2 separate regions of the Homo sapiens genome follow, and region 1 is linked to region 2. The links are contacts of gene promoters, found by promoter capture Hi-C in human tissues and cell types (Jung and others, 2019). All regions are on one chromosome and are shown on one strand. The core of a region is centred on a gene start or on the middle of the fragment in contact, and the rest is flanking DNA. Distances in the headings are between cores, read along the strand shown.

What was found. The method cuts DNA at HindIII sites, captures the fragments that hold promoters and counts their contacts. A contact is called where the count stands out against the background at its distance.
Region 1: a contact is called between a fragment that was not itself captured here and the fragment with the promoter of CCDC169 in region 2, in 1 of the 25 tissues and cell types used here (thymus).

What each region holds. Positions count from the first base shown.
Region 1 is chr13:36,348,692-36,353,242 of GRCh38, reverse strand. The region is part of intron 1 of SPART-AS1 (SPART antisense RNA 1); the gene reads right to left. It also overlaps a transcript of SPART not described here. Among named protein-coding and RNA genes, the nearest start is that of SPART-AS1, 4.5 kb to the right of the region's middle. The HindIII fragment of the contact is 6,788 bases long and covers 1-4,551 here.
Region 2 is chr13:36,295,880-36,300,291 of GRCh38, reverse strand. CCDC169 (coiled-coil domain containing 169) reads left to right here and starts at 2,478. Exons shown (of 8, transcript NM_001144981.3): 1 at 2,478-2,655. The coding sequence starts at 2,573. It overlaps CCDC169-SOHLH2 (CCDC169-SOHLH2 readthrough), which reads left to right and starts at 2,478. Exons shown (of 16, transcript NM_001198910.2): 1 at 2,478-2,655. RefSeq lists enhancers at 927-1,889, 1,890-2,851. The HindIII fragment of the contact is 10,512 bases long and covers 1-4,412 here.

The DNA of each region.
Region 1 (4,551 bases), core at 929-3,428, 53 kb before region 2:
GTCTCATTCTTTACATATTTGTCTTGCTCTGTACCATGTAAACAAGATGAATGGTGAGCCTTTTTCCTACATTTCTAGACAAAGCAAAATAAAACAAAACAAGACAAAACACAGCATTTTTTGGCAAACTGCTCTAAAGTATTCAGAAAATGTAGGCTTCATACATCACAACAGCAAAAGCAACCTCAAATGCAAAATTTGGAAATTTCGTTCTGAGTCTTTTGTCAGTCTATCATGTTGCTTGGCTTTTCCTCTCTTCTCAATTTTTAAATTTTCTATTTTTGAGACAGGTTCTGGTTCTGTCACTCAGGCTGGAGTGCAGAGATGTGAACATGGCTCACTGTAGCCTTGACCTCCCAGGCTTGAGAGATTCTCCCACCTCAGCCTCCCAAGTAGCTGGAGCTACAGGTGTGTGCCACCATGCCTGGCTAATTTTCAATTTTTTTTTTTTTTTTTGGAAACGGGATCTCCCTGTGTTGCCCAGGCTGGTCTGGTCTTGAACTTCTGGGCTCAATTGATCCTCCCACCTCAGCCTCCCAACATGTTGGGATTATAGGTGTGAGGCTACCACACCTGGCCTCTTCTCAGTTTTCACTGCTTCTCATTCCCTACTCCACTTGTGCAAATCTTTGCTCATTTGTAATGTAGTGACAGTATTACAAAATGCTGTGTAAGTATTCTCTCATTTATCTGTCTGATTTTGCCTGTGTCCTTGGTGACTCATCTTGAATCTAGGTGGCTTACCAATGTATTTTCCTAAAGGAATGCAGTTATTAGAAGAATTTTGGTGTCTGGTTTTAAATCCCACTCCACCACTCTGTTACACATATAATAGAAAATAAGATAGCCAACCCAGTAGCCTATTTATAACATAATATAAAAAGTACAATTTAGCTAGTACCAAGTCAAATTAGGTTAGTAAGAAATGTTAAAGGAATTGTTTTCCATTTTTAATCAGTAAATTGCCCATCATCCACTATATTTGGTCTGTAAGAGGAAAGTTATACTTTACTAAGAACATCACAATTATTGATCTTTTGTCAAATGCATGCTTTTCATATAATGTAGAGTTCAAGAAAGAAAAAAGTAATGAGATCACAGGTCAGAAACCTTACCTCATGTACAACTTTTAGAACATTATTAAAACATTAACCCTCAACATAATGTACTCACAAGGAGTTTTAGTTTACATCGAGTCATCCCACTGATTTCAACATGAGCTTGGAGCAATTCGGTTATATCATTAGTGATAACCTAAGTTCACTTCATGAGATGGATACCCTGACATCTAACTCAATTCATGGCTAATTTGGACATTTCTCATTTTAATGATATTCATCATTATGTGATATACTCTCTGGGTTTTCTAATACCCACTGACAATATTATATAATAGATGAAAAGAAAAAATACTATATTTTCAGCATGTGAATAAAAGAAATGACAACCTGAATGAAATTGAATCTAGCATAATTTATGATTGAAACTTTTAGCACATTCATCTAACTAAACTACAGGCTTCTACACAAAAGTCTTTAGCATAATCACCCAGGATTTGTAAGTATAATGGGTATTGCATGCCTAAAACCCAAATAGGCATATATCATTCCTAAAGTCCATTAACAAGTAGATTTTTCTTCCGAGAACATTTACGTTATTAAAATAATGCTATGTATACTACTACTGTTTTATTAATGGCACTGTGACAGGGTTACAATAGTGTTCATATTTACCAATTTTTGTACAGTGAAATAAATTCTTTGCCAAGAGAAAACAACTTCATCAATCTTAAGGAAGACAGACTTTAAAAAACATACAGATTTGCTTAGAACCAAATTGATCTTTGCTAATCATTAAAGAATGTCAGCAAGAAGAGAAGAAATTCATGTATTACTACCAATATTTATTGAGTGCAAACTTTTTTTTTTTTTTCAAAATTAGAGATGAGGTCTTGTTTGTTGCCCAGGGTGGTCTTGAACTCCTGGTCTCAAGTGATCCTTCTGCCTCAGCCTCCTAAAGTACTGGGATTACAGGTGTGAGCTGCTGCACCTGGCTTGAGTGCCAACTTTAAATGAGTTACTTCAGTTAATTTAGGTAACCACCCTGTGAGGCAGATTCTATTATCACATCCCCATATTACAGATGAGAAAACAGGTCAGAGTGTTTAAGTGGCAACAACTGTGAGATGAAGGTGGCTTCAAACTCGGGTTCTTGGATTCTAGAACTAGTGGTCCCAGACTCTCTGCTACAAGTATGTGATGTAAAAATATTTGACCGGGGTATGTATACCACTGGAGGTATGCAGAAATTTACAGGGATATAAGATAAGATAATCAATACCCAGATTTTAATTTTTTATGTGCTATTTCCTAGTATCTTTTTTCCTACTCCTCCTTTCACACTAAAACTTTTCCCACTTTATGCAAGAAATACACAGCTCCCTAAATCTTACTCTGGTGCATTACCCAGGGGTAAAAGCCCCAAAAGTGCCATGATTTCAAAATATTGTTCTCTTCTATAATGGTATGATGGTAATTTTCATTTAAAGACCTCAGCCACAATTATTCACTAGTTTTAGAGAATTATTTTTTTTAGAAGGATCTGGTAAGAAAAAAAGACAGGGGAGAAAAGTTAGAAGTTAAGTGACAGCAGCTGGTTTTTAGCCAATTATTCCTATCCTGAGATGGCCAGGTGGAAATGACCAAATCAAATCTCCTTGTAAACATGCAAGGTATATTCTGGTGGAAAGAGAATGGGGAGTCCTTGTCTATGAAATGCTTTTTAGCAGGGTACACCTGGTCTGTCTAGATGGCCTAAGGTAAATAAACCCGGAATTGATCGATATATTAATACATGGAATGGCCCAGTGGAAAATGTCAGTGTCCACCATGTAATTATTTCAGTATAAAACGGAGATAGTTCCTGACTGAAAGAGCTCCATCTGTGTAAGTGTTCACCGGCATAACTTACTCAGAGACCTCACCTGCGAGATCTAAGCCAGAATGTGTTCTAAGGAATTCGGGGAAGCCCTGGGGACCTGGGTTAGTGGTTTTGGATACTGCCATTATTTTCTTGTGACTGGGTAAAAGAAAGCTCTGAATCTTGTCAGTCTGATTTGACAATCCAATCCTTGTTTTACCTCAATAAGATATATTAAATGTTAAAAATGGCTTTTTACATGTTTCCAAATATACGCAATTATTTTCTGCTAATCTCAAGCACCCCTTTGGCCTAAGCAGATCCAAGTTTTGTGATGCTTGCAGCTTTCACAGTTTGAATGGCCTTCTGTAGGAAAATAATAAAAGTGAATCAAAAAATTACTAATTTAAAAAAGCTGACGAATACTACAGATACCACAAAATCCAGAAAAATAACATCATTCTATTATTCAGGTGCTTGGCACAGCCCATAATACTTTCCCCCACCTTTCTTGGCTCTATGCTGATTGCTTCTTCATATGAAAATGATTTTGCAACATATTCCACAGAGATAACAGATAATTCAGTTTTTCCTCTAGCATAGTTTATCAAGATTAGCTTTTTAATATAATTTAGGAAAGCTCAGTTCAGCTTCATAATTCAGTATTAAGAGTGTCACAGAATTTCACAATTATCGAATTTGGAAGGACCACTAATACAGGTTTTGACCAGGTACTGAGGAGCAAACCAAATCCTTTGCTTACACTTTTCTACAGATGAGCTTCTGGCCCTGTTCACTTTACTTGTTCCTTCTACCACATCCTTCTGGTACTGGGCACTGTAGGACCCAAACAGAAAGCAATATGGTGCCTGGCCAGTGTCTTTCTGTTTGGATGCCAGGTAATTCTGCAGTCAGTAGTACGAATATTCCTAGAAGTCAGCACTAGACTACTATGGCTAGCAGTAACTTAACCATACGTGGAAGCTTCTGTGAACATAAACATACCTCATAAAACAAAAATTAACCACACTGACTTACTGCAGTTTTTTGCTTGTTTGTTTGAGACAGAGTTTTGCTCTTGTTGCCCAGTCTGGAGTCAATGGCACAATCTCGGCTCACGGTGACCTCCACCTCCCGGGTTCAAGTGAGTCTCCTGCCTCAGCCTCTTGGGTAGCTAGGATTACAGGCATGCGCCACCACGCCCAGGTAATTTTGTATTTTTAGTAGAGACCGGGTTTCTTCATGTTGGTCGGGCTGGTCTCGAACTCCCGACCTCAGGTGATCCGCCTGCCTCGGCCTCCCAAAGTGCTGGGATTACAGGTGTGAGCCACCATGCCTGGCCTGCAGCTTTGTAGTTAAGTTTTGAAATTGGAATGTGTCAGTCCTCCAACTTCATTCTTCTTTTTCAAGATCTGTGTGTGTGTGCTCATGTGGCTATTCTGGGTCCTTATATTTCCCTGGATTGTATGAATTTTAGGATCAGCTTGCAAAATTCTGCAAAAAAGTCATTTGGGATCTTGACACGGATTGTGTTGCGTCTGGAGGTCCATTTGAGAAGTACTGCCATCTTCCCAATATGAAGTCTTTCAACCCTTTAACATGGGATGTCTTTCCATTTATTTAGGTCTTTAA
Region 2 (4,412 bases), core at 1,229-3,728:
CAGAGGAAGGTCTTCAGGACTCAAGACCTTAGTTGTAGATTATAAAAAGTTAACCACTTAATGTCTATAGATGAATGCACACTTACACATAGACATATAGCTTAGAAGGTCTGGAAAACTGTAATTTTGAGTTGGTCTGGTTATAGTTTCCAGGGCTTCTGCCTGTAACTGGTTCCAGAAATAAAAACTCTCTTCCTCCCCAGTTCATCTACATGTTCTTACTGGGTCACAAGAAATAGCAACCCAACCCTCAGTTTGGTCTGGGAACACCCTGTGCAGCTCTCCCCTCCAATATCTGCCCTGCAAAGTCTAGCTGCCTTGTTCTCTCTAGACTCTTAGAGAAACTCCGTTTCCTCAACTTAGGGCAACCACCAGCCTCTGCCTGTTTTCTCCCTTTCTGCTTTGTACCCTGGCAGGCCCAGGCCAATTTGGGAGCTTGCCTCATTTGTGTCTCATCTCTTGGTGATCGTTTTCCCTTATTGCCTGATGTTCAATGTTCTTTTTTTGTTCCTCTTAGTTTTTTAGTTGTTTCAGGCAGGAGGGTAAATTCAGGTCCTTTATCTCTGCCAGAAACACAAATCTGTGGTTTCTGTAGTTGTTGACAAACCTGTTTTCTGCTTGCCTTTGCTCCTAATTTCCCACAGTGAGATCCTGCTAACAGATCTTTTTAAGAAATCCTCTGGGTCGGGTGCAGTGGCTCATGCCTATAATCCCAGCACTTTGGGAGGCAGAGGTGGGTGGATCACGAGGTCAGGAGTTCAAGACCAGCCTGAGCAATATGGTGAAACCCCATCTCTACTAAAAATACACAAAAAAATTAAGCCAGGCATGGTGGTGCGTGCCTGTAGTCCCAGCTACTTTGGGAGGCTGAGGCAGGAGAATTGCTTTAACACAGGAGTGGAGTTTGCAGTAAACTGAGATTGTGCCACTGCACTCCAGCCTGGGAGACAGATGAGACTCCGTCTCAAAAAAGAAATCCTCTGTATATTTGGATTTGTCAACAGATAATCTAGTCCTTTTCACTTCATTCTATTCTGTTTACTTGGTTGTGAGTTGCCCTTTCAGACTTAACAGCTAGACAAAATTTTGATAAGCATACCTCCTATATTAGGGTAATTCACAGAAACAGAACCAATAGGGAGTGTGTGTATAAAAGATTTATTATAAGGAATTTGCCCGTACAATTATGAAGGCTGAGAAGTCTCAGGATCTGCAGTTGACAAGCTGGAGATGCAAGCAAACTGATGTGCAGTCCCAGTCTGAGCCCAAGGCTGGAAAAGTGTTCCAGCTCAAGCTGTTTGGCTGTAGGAGCTCCCTCTTACTCCTGGGAGGTCAGCCTTTTTGTTCTATTCTGTCTTCGGTCGATTGGCTGAGGCCCACCCACATTGGGGAAGACAATGTACTATACTCAGTCTACCAATTGAAATGTTAATCTCATCCAGAAACTCAATTGGAAAACTATGTATTCACAACACTTCTGACACCAAATTGTGTTTTCCACACCAATTATCCCATTCTCACTAAAACCTTGGTCTCCACAACCCCTTTATTCTCTAAAGACATTCCTAAGTCTTTAGTCAGTAACTTTTCAACCAATTGCCAATCAGAAAATCTTTGAATCTAGCTGTGACCTGGAAGCCACCCCGTCCCCCACCCCTTCCAATTGCCCTGCCTTTCCCGATGGAACCAGTGTATATCTTAACATGCATTTGATTGATGTCCCATGTCTCCCTAAAATGTATAGAACTAAGCTGTACCCTGACCACCTTGGGCACGTGTTCTCAGAATCTCCTGAGGGCTGTCACCCGCCATTGGTCACTCATTTGGCTCAGAATAAATCTCTTCAAATATTTTACAGAGTTTGTCTCTTTTTGTCAAGGAAACACAGATGTATCAAGGGTAGGATGCAAACTTTGTGATTAAAAATATAATGAAATTTCAAGTTGCAGTGAGCAGCTCTGAGGTATGTTCATGAACAGCACACAGATGCAAAACAATAATCTGGAGGGTTAGCAGTCTTCCCGAGTTCAGGAGGTACCTTTTTAAGACCAGTTCCTCCCGCTCCGACACTGCCAAATCAGCGACTCTGGTGCTTGTTCAACTGAAGCAAAGAAGGGCGCAGCTAATCTTGGATCCAGCGTTTCCCTAACAAGGGCTAAGAGTGAAGCCGACTTTGCCGTCCGGGGCAATGTTTAGGAAAGCAACCAAAGCCAGCAGGAGGGAAGAAAAAGGAGAGGGATATTCTTGGCCCCCTGACACTCCGCTGTGTAGCCGGAGCACGTCTAACCCCAGCGTCTTGAGCAAGGAGTGTCCCTGGAGCTGTTATCCAGGGTCGCTCCACCGCACAGAGTAGGCTTCTCCAGTCTCCCCGGCTGCCCTCGCCCCACCCCCTGCCGCCTGCGGGCATCGCTTTATGACGTCACCACGTGCCTCTGCGGGCAGGCGCGGGAGGTGCGACCGGGGGGCGGTTGGGGTTCACCGCCTCGTGCCGTACTGGCTTCTGGGTGGCCCTTAATGTCTTGTGCTCTAAGGTGCTGAGGGGAAAGACGCGGGAGGTCTCTGGCCTGACACTATGAAGGAAGAGAGAAACTACAACTTCGACGGTGTGAGCACCAACCGCCTGAAACAGCAGTTGCTGGAAGAAGTCCGCAAGAAGTGAGTCGGCGGGCGGCGCGGTGTGGGGTCCCGTCCACACCCCCCGAGCCTTCACCTGCAGAGTCTCAGGGCTGAAGCCGCTGAGGGTGCTGTAAGACCGGCGCCGTGATTAACCCCTGGGCACTTCGGTCTGGGTTCCAAAAGTATTCCATGCGAAAGATTCACGTGCCTCTTTGAGTAAGCCTTTGGTATTGTTAAGTAGGCAGCTTTCCGGGTAGGATGTGCTGCCCTTAAGGATCCAATCATATGGCGTGTATTTTGCCCATATACTGTAATGCCAAAAGTTGTGTTTGGTTTTGATGTCTCCATAAATCCAGGTTTTCTGCTTAAAATTCCAAAGATTTTATTTAGTTATACGGGGTTTTTTTTTTCTTTCATCCCTTTAAGGGGAACTTCATAAAATGACATTTAGTAAAACTGTTACTCCTCCTTTATGCTTTTTAAAAACAGTATTCGTACTTCGTGTTAAATTTTTGAAACATTTAAAGTATTTTTTGGACATACTCCCAACTCCATCCACAAGTCCCGTGAGAATTGGACTCTCCTTTGTGCCTAGATAGGGTTCTGGGTTTTCCTCTATTGTAGCTCCAGTCACAGTATTTTAATTGCCTGTCTATTTCTTGTTTTGCTACCAAACTACACGCGTTCTGAGGACAGGTTCTGTGTATTCTGAGGAAGTAGAGAATAAGAGCAAGTACTTGAGGACAGTCCTGCAAAAACACAAACTCCATCTCTTGTCACTCAGTAACTATGCAATCTTAGACAAGTTAATTAACCTCTTTAATCCTCAGTTTTCTCAGCTCTAAGACTGGTATACAAATAGTCATCTCATACCTCCTGCTGTTGTTCCCAGGTTGGAATGAAATGCACTATAAAGAACTTAGCATTGGCTTGTGATACGCATCCAGTGGAACTTTGCTGCCGCTATTGCTATTTTTCTGTTCACTGTTCACTGAATTCTTCCGTATTTAATACAATGCCTTGAACATAATAGGCACTCAAAAATATTTATTGAATAAATGGCCCTGTCATATGATAATGTTCTATTTACTGATGCCCTAAATAGCTAACCTTTTAAATTAGTGTTTGTTTTTTTCTCTTTGTTTCAGTTTGTCAGCTGTTATGTATTGCCCTAGGTATGCCTTTCTGTAATAATGTGCAGTGCCTAATTTGCTTGGTTCTGAAAAACCAGGTAACTAACTTCTTTAGGATGATATTTAAGTTAAAAATAAAGGATTTCCAAGGGCCGGGCCTGGTGGCTCACGCCTGTAATCCCAGCACTTTGGGAGGCCGAGGCTGGGCGGATCACAAGGTTAGGAGTTCGAGACCAGCCTGGCCAATATGGTGAAACCCTGTCTCTTCTAAAAATACAAAAAAATTAGCAGGGCTTGGTGGCGCATGCCTGTAATCCCAGCTATTCAGGAGGCTGAGGCAGGAGAATTGCTTGAACCCGGGAGGCGGAGGTTGCAGTGAGCCGAGTTTGCACCACTGCACTCCAGCCTGGGCGACAGAGCGAGATTCTGTCTCAAAAAAATAAATAAAAATAAATAAAAGATTTCTAATGGTTGCCTGGGGGTCTTTGAGCTTTAGTGCATATTTGAGTCCTAGAACTGACTAATTGGAAGCCTTCCTTTGCCTGAGTCTTATTTCTTAACCAGTCCTTCAGTAAATAATGTGTCATAGTAAATTGTTCCTGAAGTAGTAGTGGGTTACTATGTATTATTTTTCTGATGTTATTTTTAATTGAATTATAATCA